2 separate regions of the Homo sapiens genome follow, and region 1 is linked to region 2. The links are contacts of gene promoters, found by promoter capture Hi-C in human tissues and cell types (Jung and others, 2019). All regions are on one chromosome and are shown on one strand. Each heading gives the region's core, a stretch centred on a gene start or on the middle of the fragment in contact. The rest is flanking DNA. Distances are from core to core; before and after follow the strand shown.

Region 1 (6,094 bases), core at 2,842-5,341, 1.2 Mb after region 2:
TTCCTAGCCCAGTATCCCCTCCCCCCCGCCATTTTATCTCACTGAGATTATAGGAGATTTTAAGCAAGAAAACAAAATGAAACCAAGCACTTTATCAGTAGGTTACAGGTCAAAGGCGATAAGTCCTCAAAAATCCCAGTTCTCAACAGGAACCTGGGACTTTTCACTGCACTCACTGCAGAGGTGAGGAGATGACAGAGGAAGCAGAAGGTCCCTTGCCCTTGGCAGGCTCCCACCAAGCTGCCATTACTTATGGGGCCATCTAATGAGGGATCTGAAGAAATTGATGACGGACCCCTAAACATCCCTGAGTCCAGCAAATCTCCTCCCCCTTCCTTCCCGCATTGCCGCTCCTCTTCTTTTTCCCTTTATTTGGCGTTATGTTCATTGCCTTTCCCCCACTTCTCTCTCTTCCTTGGACTCCTGCAGCCCGGGTCACTAACTTAGCTTTCACCCCCCCTAGTGGTAAGTAAGGCAAATCACCCATTTGCTTGTTGGTTCCAAGAGCTACAGCTACACGCGCTCTCATAGGGGCTGAACAGATATAAAATGAGAGAAGACATCTACTTATTATTTGAAGGAGGTTAAACTTTTATTTTAACCACAACAGATAGTCCCCAATCTTGAGATACTTATTCTTTATTATTTGATTATTACATACATAAGAAATTACAACTATAGTGTATCAATAGAATTTCATAATGTGTACAGTCAAGCCTTTTAGGTATTTTCTATTATTATACATAAAAATATAGTTAATGAAAAATAAAATCATTTCTCATTATACCTGAGGTGTGATGTAAATGAAGTTGATACTGTAAGATTGATATTAGTCACGGTGATTGCCCTTTTGAGTGAAATCAACATGCTGTACTAAAAAAAATATAGTACAATATTAGGGTTTAGCTTGTATTTCTGAGACTGGAAACGGTCTTAAGAGGGATGAGGTGAGCTGCTGTGATATGCAGAGGCCTGGGAAGACCTTTCTGCTGCTAAAAATTTTGCCCTGACTCATGTGGCCTTGGGCTAAAATCAAATGTTCACATTGATAGGAAGGCATCATAAAAATAAACGAATTGTCAGCTCTTTCTCCTTTCCACTGTTAAACCTCTGCAAGTTTAACTCTGAGCTGCTGGAAGGAGGGTGAGAGGTAGTTTTGTAAGGAACTGGGTGGATTTTCATAATACTGGGATGTTAAAGAGCAGAATGAGAAGTGTGACAGAGAGCACGGAGCACTTCAGGAGGTGGAAATGGTGTGTGATACTGTAACTCCAGCTCTTGTTGGACACAGCTTTTTAAAATTTGTATTTCATGAGTCCTAGGAAAATTCTTCTTCCCCAAATGGCAGTAGTACAGATCTGGGGCTGAAAGAAAGGCCTTCATTCTTTTTTTTTTTTTTTTTAATATGTAAAATGTTAACTCATTAAATCCTCCCTATGACATTATGAGGTAGGTGCTATTGTAACATTCACTGTGCTGATAAACTGAGACAGAAGAGAAGTTAGGTAACTTGCTCAAAGTCACTTAACAAGTAAGCAAGGGGTGCGGCTTCCACCCTAGCAATCTGGCCCCAACATGCGTGCATTTGCTTATTCTCCAGGGCTGCTCTTCTAGCTGGAGGATCTGGAGCTGGAGGTCAGAACCCGCAGCTTTCTGGCCGAAGGACATTAAGCCAGACAACTCAAACGTGTTGTATTGCTCATACTTTGGGTTTACCATGATCATGTAGGCAACACTGATTGATGATCAGTGCAACTAGGTCTGAAACAGGATATTCTTGTACTGAAGCTTAGTTTTATGCAGAATTACATCTTATCCTTCAGATTCTAAGCTTATTTCTGCACTGATAAGTTGGCATCTCGGTGGCCTCAGTTTCTGTGGGTTTTTACCCGGTTGAGATGAGAATATTCCTTGCTCCCCTAATGGATTTCCATTTAATTTTCTTAAAACAAAAACAATACTGTTTTTTAAAAGAAAGTGTTTTCATGCAGTTTAAGTGTTAAAAAATCAGTTTAAAATTTTCACAGCAGCAAGAGCAGGAAGAACTCAGGTTATATGGTCTTGACCACACTTGCCGGCATACAGCGTACTTTGTCCTGGGTGGGTGCTGAAGAAAAATGGAGAACAAAACCAACTCCATGACTGAAACACAAACTCAACCTTGCACATGCAGCAAATAGGTTGAGTTAAAAGAACAATGAAAGAGAGCTCAGACTCATTCTTGTTTTAGTGACTTTTTAGGTTTATTTTTTTCCAACTGTGATTTTATCCAGAGTGTTAGTATAAACTTATGTGGTTAGAACTGTTACCAAAGGATAGGAGATCTAATTCCAGATCAACCAGTGAAAGTCGGGTAGTTTTAACCACCAACATCTGCAACAGCTAAATAAGATCCATGTTGCTTCTGTTACACAGTGTTTCCTACTGTATTTTTGAAAATGTGCTCAATTGTCACATAGTAAAAGCAAATATTGAGTAGCTTCTGAGGGACAGTGGTACTTTTAAAAAAGTGATCCCAACTCCTATGTTCTTTAGAAACAATTCAAGTAAACATATTAAATAAGATTCCAAACCTTTCACCTCTTATTACTGTTCCATCTAAAATTTCATCCATTTGGAATGAATGGGGAGATGGACAATGTCCTTGGAAAGATTGTAAGTCTAGACGGGGGTAGCTTAGTTTCATATTTTTATATAAAAAAAGCTTTTTGCTCACAAAGCCAGATGGTAGACGGAATTGCTCCACTTAATGCTGGGAGCTGTTCATGACAGAGCATGCACTGGGTATGCTGACAGAGATGAATGCTTTGGAAAAGGTTTCCACTGAACACAGAAACTTGATTTGCAAAGGAGGAGAGACTTTGTCCATTCCCTAAGTGACCAATCTTTAAGAATGGCTTTAAGAATGATGTGAGTTGAAAATTAAATCTAAAATCATAAAATAAGTAATATCTTCCTGTATACTTACACATTTGAGGGTATGATTACTATCTGGTCATTTGGCAAGAACAGTTACAAGAAATCACATCTTAAATAAACTTCTCATACACAATTTGTTGCTAAAATGCATTTGCTTAGCAGCCAAGGATTAGATTTTTGCCAGTTTGTACTAAGGATTAGCTGAGATTTGTGTTGCAAACAGAAGATTAAGGGAGCAGGCATATCATCTTCATGAACAATTCAGAATAATATTTTGTTTCAAAATTAACCAGTGTGGGATCAGCACTTCACATTATGTGTTTGTGTGCAGAAATTCATGCATATAGCATTTCTTTTTCCAGAAGTAATTAGGGGATTCAGGTAAAACCAATTATTTGTGAGCACTTTGTTATATAAAAGAGGTCCCTGTGCTGAGCCACACACTGGGAGATGGTAAATCAGTAGTTCCTTCCCGGGTATGTTATGTTTGATTATACTTATATTCTATAATATTTTGCCCTTTTCATTTTATGCTCATATTTTCATTGGTTTATGAAGTAACAGTCTCTAGATTTCATTCCAAATGGAAAGTTGGCATGAAAACTCTCAATCCAATTATTCCTATACGCATTTTGAAACAAATCATTTTGGCCCTTTTGAAAATTTTACAGGAGGTGATAAAAATAGGAAATTTCAGGTTTCAGATGTTTTATTGCATTCTTGTAGCATAATAACAGCTTCATTAAAAAGAATTCCACAATACAATGTGGACTCTGTGAGTTGTTTAAAACACTTTTGCTGGCTTTCTTTTTAAAGCTTTGTATGCAAGAAAGTTGTGTTATTTTACAGTTTATGTTTCATTTTATTTTGCTAAGCTTTGGGGAGATATTGAATTAATACTCCCCAATGCATGACTGTAGGGATTAAAGAGCCTGCCAAGTGGTACTGCTCTTGAGACTGATGACTTAGGACACTTCCAAGCTAAAATCACACCTATTCTAAGAAGTTGGAATCAGTTTCAGGGCTTATTTCAATCTCCGGAGCTAATCATCCTTCAACTTATGGGCTGTGTTAGAGGTGGACTTGGGGGAAGCTCTTCCCTAGGGCATTTTGTTCAGTCACTGGAGGAACAAGAGGAAGAAGCAAAAGTAACTCTCTCTCCCCTGAATTTGGGAAATTATTATTTCCCAGGCAACAAATTTTAGCAGGGGTAGAGGGAACCTTCAAAGCTATCTGGTACAGGTGTTCTTTCGGTCTCAAGTCTCCTTTCCAAACTCTGTCTTCCAAACAAAGCTCAAGTATCTCCAGCAAGGGGAAATTTCATCTTGGGAGGCAGAGCCTTCTGTCTGGGAACACCCCGGAGTTACAGAGCTCCTCCTGATGTGGAGCTGAGATCTGTCGTCCTGTGACTTCCACCCATTGTTCCTAGCAATATACCTCCGACACAGAAAGAACAGGCCTCTTTTTATTTCTTAACAGCAATTCAGCTCTCAGGGGAGGGCATGGGTAGAGTAGGGAGGATGGAGCTTTGTAGATGGACAGGGTCCTGTCCTCTCTGGTCCTCAGTCTCCAGTTCTGTAAGGTGCCGATTATAAAACCAGACTTCCAGCGTTGCTGGGGAGATTCCAGGAAATGTGTATGAGGCCCCTGCTGCAACTCCTGGCACCAAGCAGTGACTCCATAGCAGATGATCACTACGATTCCTATGGAAGCTGCTTAGTGATTTTCCCTGGAGTCCTCTTTCTGTAGGAGAATTGGCCTCTATTTTTTCCATCTCTTTACATGTTTTGTAGGTTGGGGTCTCCACCACTTCCAGTTAGTCAAGTCTTGCCAAGAACTATCTGCAATCCTTTTTAGACCTGATGGCTGCTAGGGAACAGAGTGGAAACCCTCCGCAGCAGCTGGTCACAGAAGCAGAATTGATGTCCTCGTCGGGTTCTCCATTCAGGGACCAAATGCTCAGCAAATGCCTAGAGAGCGAATGGCAGGCATTTCGTAGAATAGAAAGAGTAAGACAGTTTGGAGCTGAAATTCACACTCTATTATTATACTGTGAAATCCTAGTGCGCTCCTTCTGTGTCAGCCTTTGTGTCAGATACCTACATATTTATTATCTTACTCACTCCTCACATCAACTCGGTGATCTGAAGATTGTCTCTATTTTCCCTCTGAGGAAACAGAAGTTCAGAGAATGTGAGAAACCCATGGAAGGTTGGCCAAGCGCTCCTGGTAGATTTGAGATGATCTGATCAGTGAGCAAGATGATCTCAATCACCTGAAAACCAATGAGGAGAAAAATTGTGTTCATCACTGTATTAGTCAGGGTCCTCCAGAGAAACAGAACCAGCAGGAGATGTACACATTCTATATGGATATAAAAGGAGGTTTATTATGAGGAATTGGCTCACATGATTCTGGAGGCTGAGTAGTCCCAGGACCTAGCATGTGCAAGCTGGAGAACCAGGAAAGCTGGGGCTGTAATTCAGTCCCAGTCTAAAGGCCTGAGAATCTGGGAAGCTGACAGTGTGGAGCAGGGAGGTTGAGGCTTTGCAGGTAGATGGGGTCCCCTTCTCTCTGGTCCTTGGTCTCCACTTCTGTAAAGTGGTGAATATCAAACCTGACTTCCAAAGTTGCTGGGGAGACTCCAGAAAATGTGTATTAGGTACCTTGTGCAGTTCCTGGCATCTATCAGCGACTGAATGACAGATGATCATGATGCTTCCTATGGAAGGTACCTAGAGCCAGAGAAGATGAAATGAGATGTCCCAACCCAAGCAGTCAGTGATGATGCAAAAAGGGGCAAACTGCTGCTTCCTCTGCCTTTGATTCTGCTCAGGCCCTCCAGGGATTGAATGATGCCCAACCACTTGGGGAGGGCATCTCCTTTACTGAGTTCACTGGTTCAAATGCCAATCTCACCTGGAAACACCCTCACAGGCACACTCAGAAGGAAATTTAATCTTGGCACCCCATGGCCAGTCAAGGTGACCCAGAGAATTGACCATCATAGTTACTTTTAAGGCAATTCTGACATGAACTCAATTCCATCTTATGGTTTTGTTCCATGAACAAAACCCAGAGAGGTAAACGTGGTTTGCAGGTGGTGGGAAATCAATGTCTCAGGCGCTCTTCACGCTGACTTGTGTAATCCTTCCCTGGAGAACTGAAGACTCCC
Region 2 (6,352 bases), core at 1,590-4,089:
CTTTTTCTGTAAATAATGATAGTATAATTTGAAAAGTCTGGCTCAATTCCCAGACTTAGGTCAAGCTAATATACGAATATATTTAGTCCAGTTTACTGTTTTATTGGACTTTGATGTTGAGTTATGTTTTTTGAAAGAGTATTTTTATACTGCAAGTTCCAAAAAAGATCCTAAAAAAGACAAAGCCTTGTTTTCTTTTTATCTTTAACTGTAATAAGAAGTTGGATCTAATTTCGAAACTCCCACAATTTGCTGCACATATATTTTGGATTATGTGGGAGGCTAAAATTATATTGAGCATGAGGAATTGTTCCTATCTTATTTTCTGGCATAAAATCATGTTTTTCTTTATTGTTTTTGTATGTCTCAGAACTTCAGAAAAAGGAAAAGCATGCATCCAAAATAAAGAAAAAGTAATTATAAATTTACAACATCACAAGTGAACACAACCTACTTCTCGTAGTATTTTTGGTTTGGATATATTGCTAAATAGCATCATCATTCTCTTAGACATGAGGTTGAAAATTTCTGGGTTACTGTTGACTTCTTTCTTATTCTTACTTTTTTAAGTCCTTTTGTTTATTTTTATTCTTTCTGTTATCACAGATCCTACTCATTTTTGTCCCTCTGTAACTATTATCTAAATACATTTAAGAGATTCTTAATTGTCTTTTATAATTTACCTTCTTTCCTCTCCAAGCTATTATTAATTTTGAAGCCAAAACAATCTCAATCAAAATATTTACTTCATTTTAATGATTTCTCATTGTCTAGTGTGTTGAGTTTCAGGAAGAATGCCGGTGTCCTCTCTATTCTGGCTATACCTTAAAATTACTTCAGTGATTTTTAAATACACCAGTCTCTGGACCATAACCTCGAGACTCTGATTCATTATGCAAGAGTGGACATGGGTCTTTGAATTTCTAACAAATGTTATTGTGTTTTAATTGTGCTAAGAAAACCCTGCTCTGGCAACCTAATAAAGTAGCCTGCTAATAACAGGTACTCAATAAATATTTGTGGAACAAATGAATTATTGATTCTTTGTATGAACAGTTCATTCTCAAGCAAACACCTGAACATCAACCTCTCCCACCCCACACCCCTTTTGAAATATTCTTCATAAAACTTCCTACTGTATGAAAGTATCTTCTGTGTGTGAATTTTTACAGTCTGCATCACCACATGGAATGTGAGATCCCTGAGAAAGGAGACTTTGTTTGTTTTGTTCCCCACAGTGCCTCAGTGTCTGAAATAGCACCTGGTAAATCATAGGGACTTCTGAAATACTTTCTGAATGGATAAATGAGTGGTAGGAAAAGTGTGAACATGGTAGATAAAAGAGAAGTCACCACTAGAACACCAAGTTCCTGACATACAGTTTCAAGGTCCAGCAACATAGTTGCTACGAACTAGCTGCCTTTAAAGTTCTCTAGATCAACTATATAGATTAGCAAGTCTTTTAACTAAGCATTAAGCAGAGTACTGCTCTGAGATTTAGCACCTCAGTCTTTTAGGTCCCTAAAGACTCCGGATTGGTTCCAGAGGTGGACTGTCAAATAGGAGGACTTTCTGCAGTAATGGAAATGGTCTATGTCAGTGCTGTCCAACATGGTAGCCAAGTGTGTGTGGTTATTGAGTACTTGAAATATGGCTAGTGGCACTGAGGAACTAAAGTTTTAATTTTAATTAGTTTAAGTAGCCTTAGGTTGCTAGGGGTTACCATATTGGATATTGCAGTTCTAGAGTTATTCTTCTCTCCTCATATTCAAAATTATCTTATGATGCTATCATAATTGAAAGATTAGCCAGGGACCCTATCATGGCTATGGCAGTCATGTCCTGTGAAAAATTCCATTAATGACCTCCACGTTTTATGATGTGTAGAGCAAAATCTCAGTCTCCCTGAGTAAGGCCTGCTCCATGTGGACACCTGGCTTTCTCCCTTGTCTACCTCCCTCAGTGGAGAGTCCACCTGCTGGTAGTGCACTCCTTAGGTGCCTGTCTCTGGCTGTCCTGTGCCACCTGCACAGAGTCATGCATGAGCTCCACTGTGGGAAGTCTCTAGAGATGAGCTGAGCTTACCCTACACCAACTGAAAGAGTCTATCTAAGTCCTGAAGATCACAAGTCATCCTCATATTCCCATGAATGTGAATGGAAGTTGGGCCTGCTCAGAGAATCATCAGGGCTCTTTATTGTGGCCTGGAGCCAACTGCCAAGGAGTGCCTAGGAACACACTCAGTAAGAGTGTTGCCCTCAGGCCAGATCAGACTTGAACCTGCAGAGAAATCCCCTAGGTATGTCAGCAATTGCTCATTTGGATGCTATAAACTTGAAGTTGTGAAAAATATAAAGACTTACATTATCCAGTCTCTCCTGGCAAAATATGTAGGTTTAATCATTCCTGAATTTTCCTTAGTTCACACAGATATACAAATATATATCCTAAAAATTGGCATTGGTAGGCGTGTCAAGTTATCATTTTAAAAACATAGAAACCTGAACAAGATGTATCACTCCAGTCTAGAATGTCTATATGCAGAGTATCCACAAAAAACCAAACTTCAACAGTCTTTCATGTCTATATTTCTTCAACATTCTTTGTCTTCAACATTCTTTCATGTCTAGAATGTCTATATGCAGAGTATCCACAAAAGACCCAAACTTCTTTCATTTAAAGAACCAAACTTCTTTAAATAAAAATGACTCACAATAATTTAATATTTTACCATTTACAAAGAGATTAACTACAACAATATTGATCTTGAGTTAATTTCCCACGAATAACATTTTCATTTCTTAAAATTTGCTGAATGGAAAGCCAGAAAGTAGAGTGAAGCAAGTAATGTGTGTGTGAGTAGTCATTGGATACATACATAACAGTGAGCAAGTTTATCAGCTCCTGCATGGCAGTGTTCTGATGATCTTTTGCTGCAAAAGAGCTACACCCCAAATTAGTGGCTTAAAGTAAAAGCTTACTAGTGTATATGATGATTCTGTTGGTCCAGGATTTGGAAAGGGCATGGCAGGAGGTCTCATCTCTGCTTCACAATGCCGATGATTTAGCTGGGAGGACCCAAAATGCTGGAAAAGCTGATGGGTGCTGATTCTCTCCAGCTTTTCAGGTAGGTAGCTTGGGGTTTTTTACAGCATGGCGGCCTCAGTGCAATGTGACATTTGCATGGCAGCACAGAGCTCCCAGGGTGAATGTTCCTGGAGACAGGAAGTGGAACATGTCAGGGTTGGAAGCCTGAGCCCAGTATATGGTTCAGCCTTACTTTCTCCCATATTCTGTCAGTCAAAGGAGAACCTAGCCAAGGATCACTCATGTTAATGAGGAGGAGACATAGGCCCTCACCTATCCCTGGGAGGAGGATCAAAGAGTTTGAATCTTTAATCCACAGCAGGCAGACAGCTTTCCATTGTTATAAACCACCTCCCCCTCACTCCATCTGCCTGTGCTAATTGTTTGCTCACAGGAATTTGTTTAGCACTGTGTAGAACTGGGATAACTTTGTGCTTATTTTGCAGTTAAAAGGGAGAGGCGCTAGTTTGGAGATTTTTAAAAAGCAAAGGTTTGAGAGCCAGTAAGACCTGGAGTGAACTCTCCTGTCAGCTATTTACCAACTGTATGACTGAGCAATTTATAAAAAAAAAATGCAAACCTCAATATCTTCATCTATAAAAATAAAAAAATAAGACGTATTTGGCTGAATAGTTAAGATTAAAAATATGAAAGTGCTAAACCATACATGTTATATGCTCCATTGATGTTGCTTATTCTTTCTCTCTTCTGCAGGGTATAAAGGAATCTGAACACGACTGATATTTTCTTTAATTTTTAGATCCAGATATACATTGGGTAAAATCTACTTCATAGGTTTTCAAAGGAGCATTCTTCTGAGCAAATCTGAAAACTCTCTAAACTCTATTGGTATGTTACTCTTTATCTTTATATGAATTTAAATTCTTCTAGAAGTTAGATAAAACTGTGGTAAAGCTACATAATACTTTTGACATATTTTCAAGCGTAGACAAACTTCAATTAATTTGTAAGATACAGGAAGAAAATTTTTCCAGTTAAAATGTACCTCTTGGTTTCTGGAGTGTTAGCAACCATTCACACTTACAGTTCAAACAGTGCAACCTTGTAAAACATATATAACTTATGAAGAGATCGATATCTCTTTTTATAAAGCAAACAAGTAAATTTTTCCCTCAATCCATGATTTATTTTTGTGAAGTGGGAATTTAAGGCAGTAGTTCTGCTTTCAAGTGAAAACCTGGATCAACTTTTAAATATCTATAGGCGCAAACCCAAGCTAGGTCTCACACAGTGCCTCACTTAATAATCTGTCAACGTTTAATTCTTTTTCTTTTTTTTTTTTTTTTCTGGAGACAGGGTCTCACTATGTTGCCCAGGCTGGAGTGCAGCAGCGCCTCGGCCTCCCCAAGTGCTAGGATTACAGGTGTCAGCCACAACACCCAGCCCATTAATGTTTAATCCCCTAGAAGGTGATCCTTTTTTTTTTTTTTTTTTCAAAGAGACAAATTGCAGCTCCTTCTCTGGGCTTTTCTACACTATAGCAGATAACTTAAAATCTGACATGCCAAGATATAGCCTTGTCTTAGTTTTCTATCACTGCTATAACAAATAAGCACAAATTTAGTGGTGAAAAAAACAAGCACATTCATTATTTCATAGTTCTCATCAGGCTGACAGACATCTTACCTGGCTAAAAGCAAGGAATGGGCAGGGCTGCATGCCTTCTGGAGGCTCCAGGGCTGAGTCCATTCTCTTGCCTGCCCCAGCTTCTGGAGGCCTCCTGCATGCCTTGGCTCGTGGCCTGCCCTCTGTCTTTAGAGTCAGCAATGTTGCTTCTCTGACCACTCTTCTTCCAGCATCCCCCTCTCTAAGCACAGCAGGGAGACCTTCACTGATTATAAAGATGCCTGTGACTACCTTGGACCCACCAGGATAACCGAGGTCACTCTCCACCTCCCGGTCGTTAACATTAATTACATCTATGAAGTCCCTTTGTTACACAAGATTCCACAGGTTTTCAGGATTAAGAACTGGACATTTTTGGGGGGTGGAGCAAAGAAGTTTCTGCCTACCACAGCCCTTGATAGCATAATTAAAACATTGATTTTCATAAGGTTTTCCTAAACTGAATTTTATTTTGCCTCAAAGGTGCAGATGGTCAGTCTTTGAGTGCCAAGTTTAGATGCTCATCTTACTTTTAATTTCTGACCAAGATTGATGATTACTTGAATATGTTGGCTACCCAAGTAATTTTATTTACTTTTATTAAAGAGGATAATTATATTTCAATTAATAGATTCTCTTTAACAACAATTAAAAAATTACAAATGTTAGCTGAGAGTGACAGATATGAAATGAATTTAAAAAGTCTAATCAATGCCTGGTGGAATAATTTGAGAAGCAAAATAATTAGAAACAATTTTCATTGAAAGGCATGCAGTATGTTAATTTCTTCCACTTAGCCTTCAACAAAGCTAAGAATGTTGGAAGGAAAACAAGCTTATTGTCTTCTAATGATGGCCATGCCTTGGAACACTATTCCCTTCAGAGATTTGTCTCTGGTTTGTGGAATCACAGTAAAATATTATGAAAATAATTGTGGGTAAACAGGGAGAAGCCAGACATGAAAAGAAGCGAGATCTTGGAGCATATATCTATTTGCGTGCTAGTCTTGTTAGCTGTAAATAGACATGAACATGAAATGTGGGAATAGCAGAATAATTTTTCCAAGTGCATATTTTTTATCAAATCAATCTTTACTTTAAAAATTAGTGTAAAATTAAGAAGACAGCAGACATCAGTATGTTTCAGCATGTATATAAGCAGAAGTAGACAAGGCATCTACATTTTCTACAGGTAGGAGAGAGTTATCATCTCATTAGATAGTTAAGTACCATACCATAGGGTTCAATAATATTCATACTAGGCAGAACACTAAATTCAAAGTAGCTGGAGGGCAGAATTTTCCTTATGTTCTCTTATCACCATCCACACTGTCTTAACCACCTAGGTGTGTACCGTTAGTTCCTGGCTGCATTTTCTCCTCTTCAACTTGCAAATTTTTCCTGTATTAAAACTAATTCTGCTCTGTCATATTTTATTTGGGCTTTATTTTCTAATAATGACAATGAGTGTAAAAGAAATTCACATTATCCAATCCTATTTTATTTCTTTCAGGTATTCACCAAATCCACAAAAATGTAAGGCCCAAAAATAATGTACCAGTGGTGAAAATTTTAAACATTTCTGACACATAGATGAAGGGGATATATATTTTATGAAGTAATGAGCTTATTATAGGGGA

Evidence for each region. Contacts are between HindIII fragments. The study calls those that stand out against the background at their distance.
Region 1: a contact is called between a fragment that was not itself captured here and the fragment with the promoter of DAOA in region 2, in 1 of the 25 tissues and cell types used here (lymphoblastoid cells).

What each region holds. Positions count from the first base shown.
Region 1 is chr13:106,619,676-106,625,769 of GRCh38, forward strand. The region is part of intron 1 of ARGLU1-DT (ARGLU1 divergent transcript); the gene reads left to right. Among named protein-coding and RNA genes, the nearest start is that of ARGLU1-DT, 4.9 kb to the left of the region's middle. The HindIII fragment of the contact is 4,564 bases long and covers 1,810-6,094 here.
Region 2 is chr13:105,463,206-105,469,557 of GRCh38, forward strand. DAOA (D-amino acid oxidase activator) reads left to right here and starts at 2,840. Exons shown (of 6, transcript NM_172370.5): 1 at 2,840-2,855; 2 at 3,011-3,127; 3 at 3,848-3,936. The coding sequence starts at 3,084. It overlaps DAOA-AS1 (DAOA antisense RNA 1), which reads right to left. Exons shown (of 7, transcript NR_040247.1): 5 at 2,982-3,215. The HindIII fragment of the contact is 13,308 bases long and covers 1-4,261 here.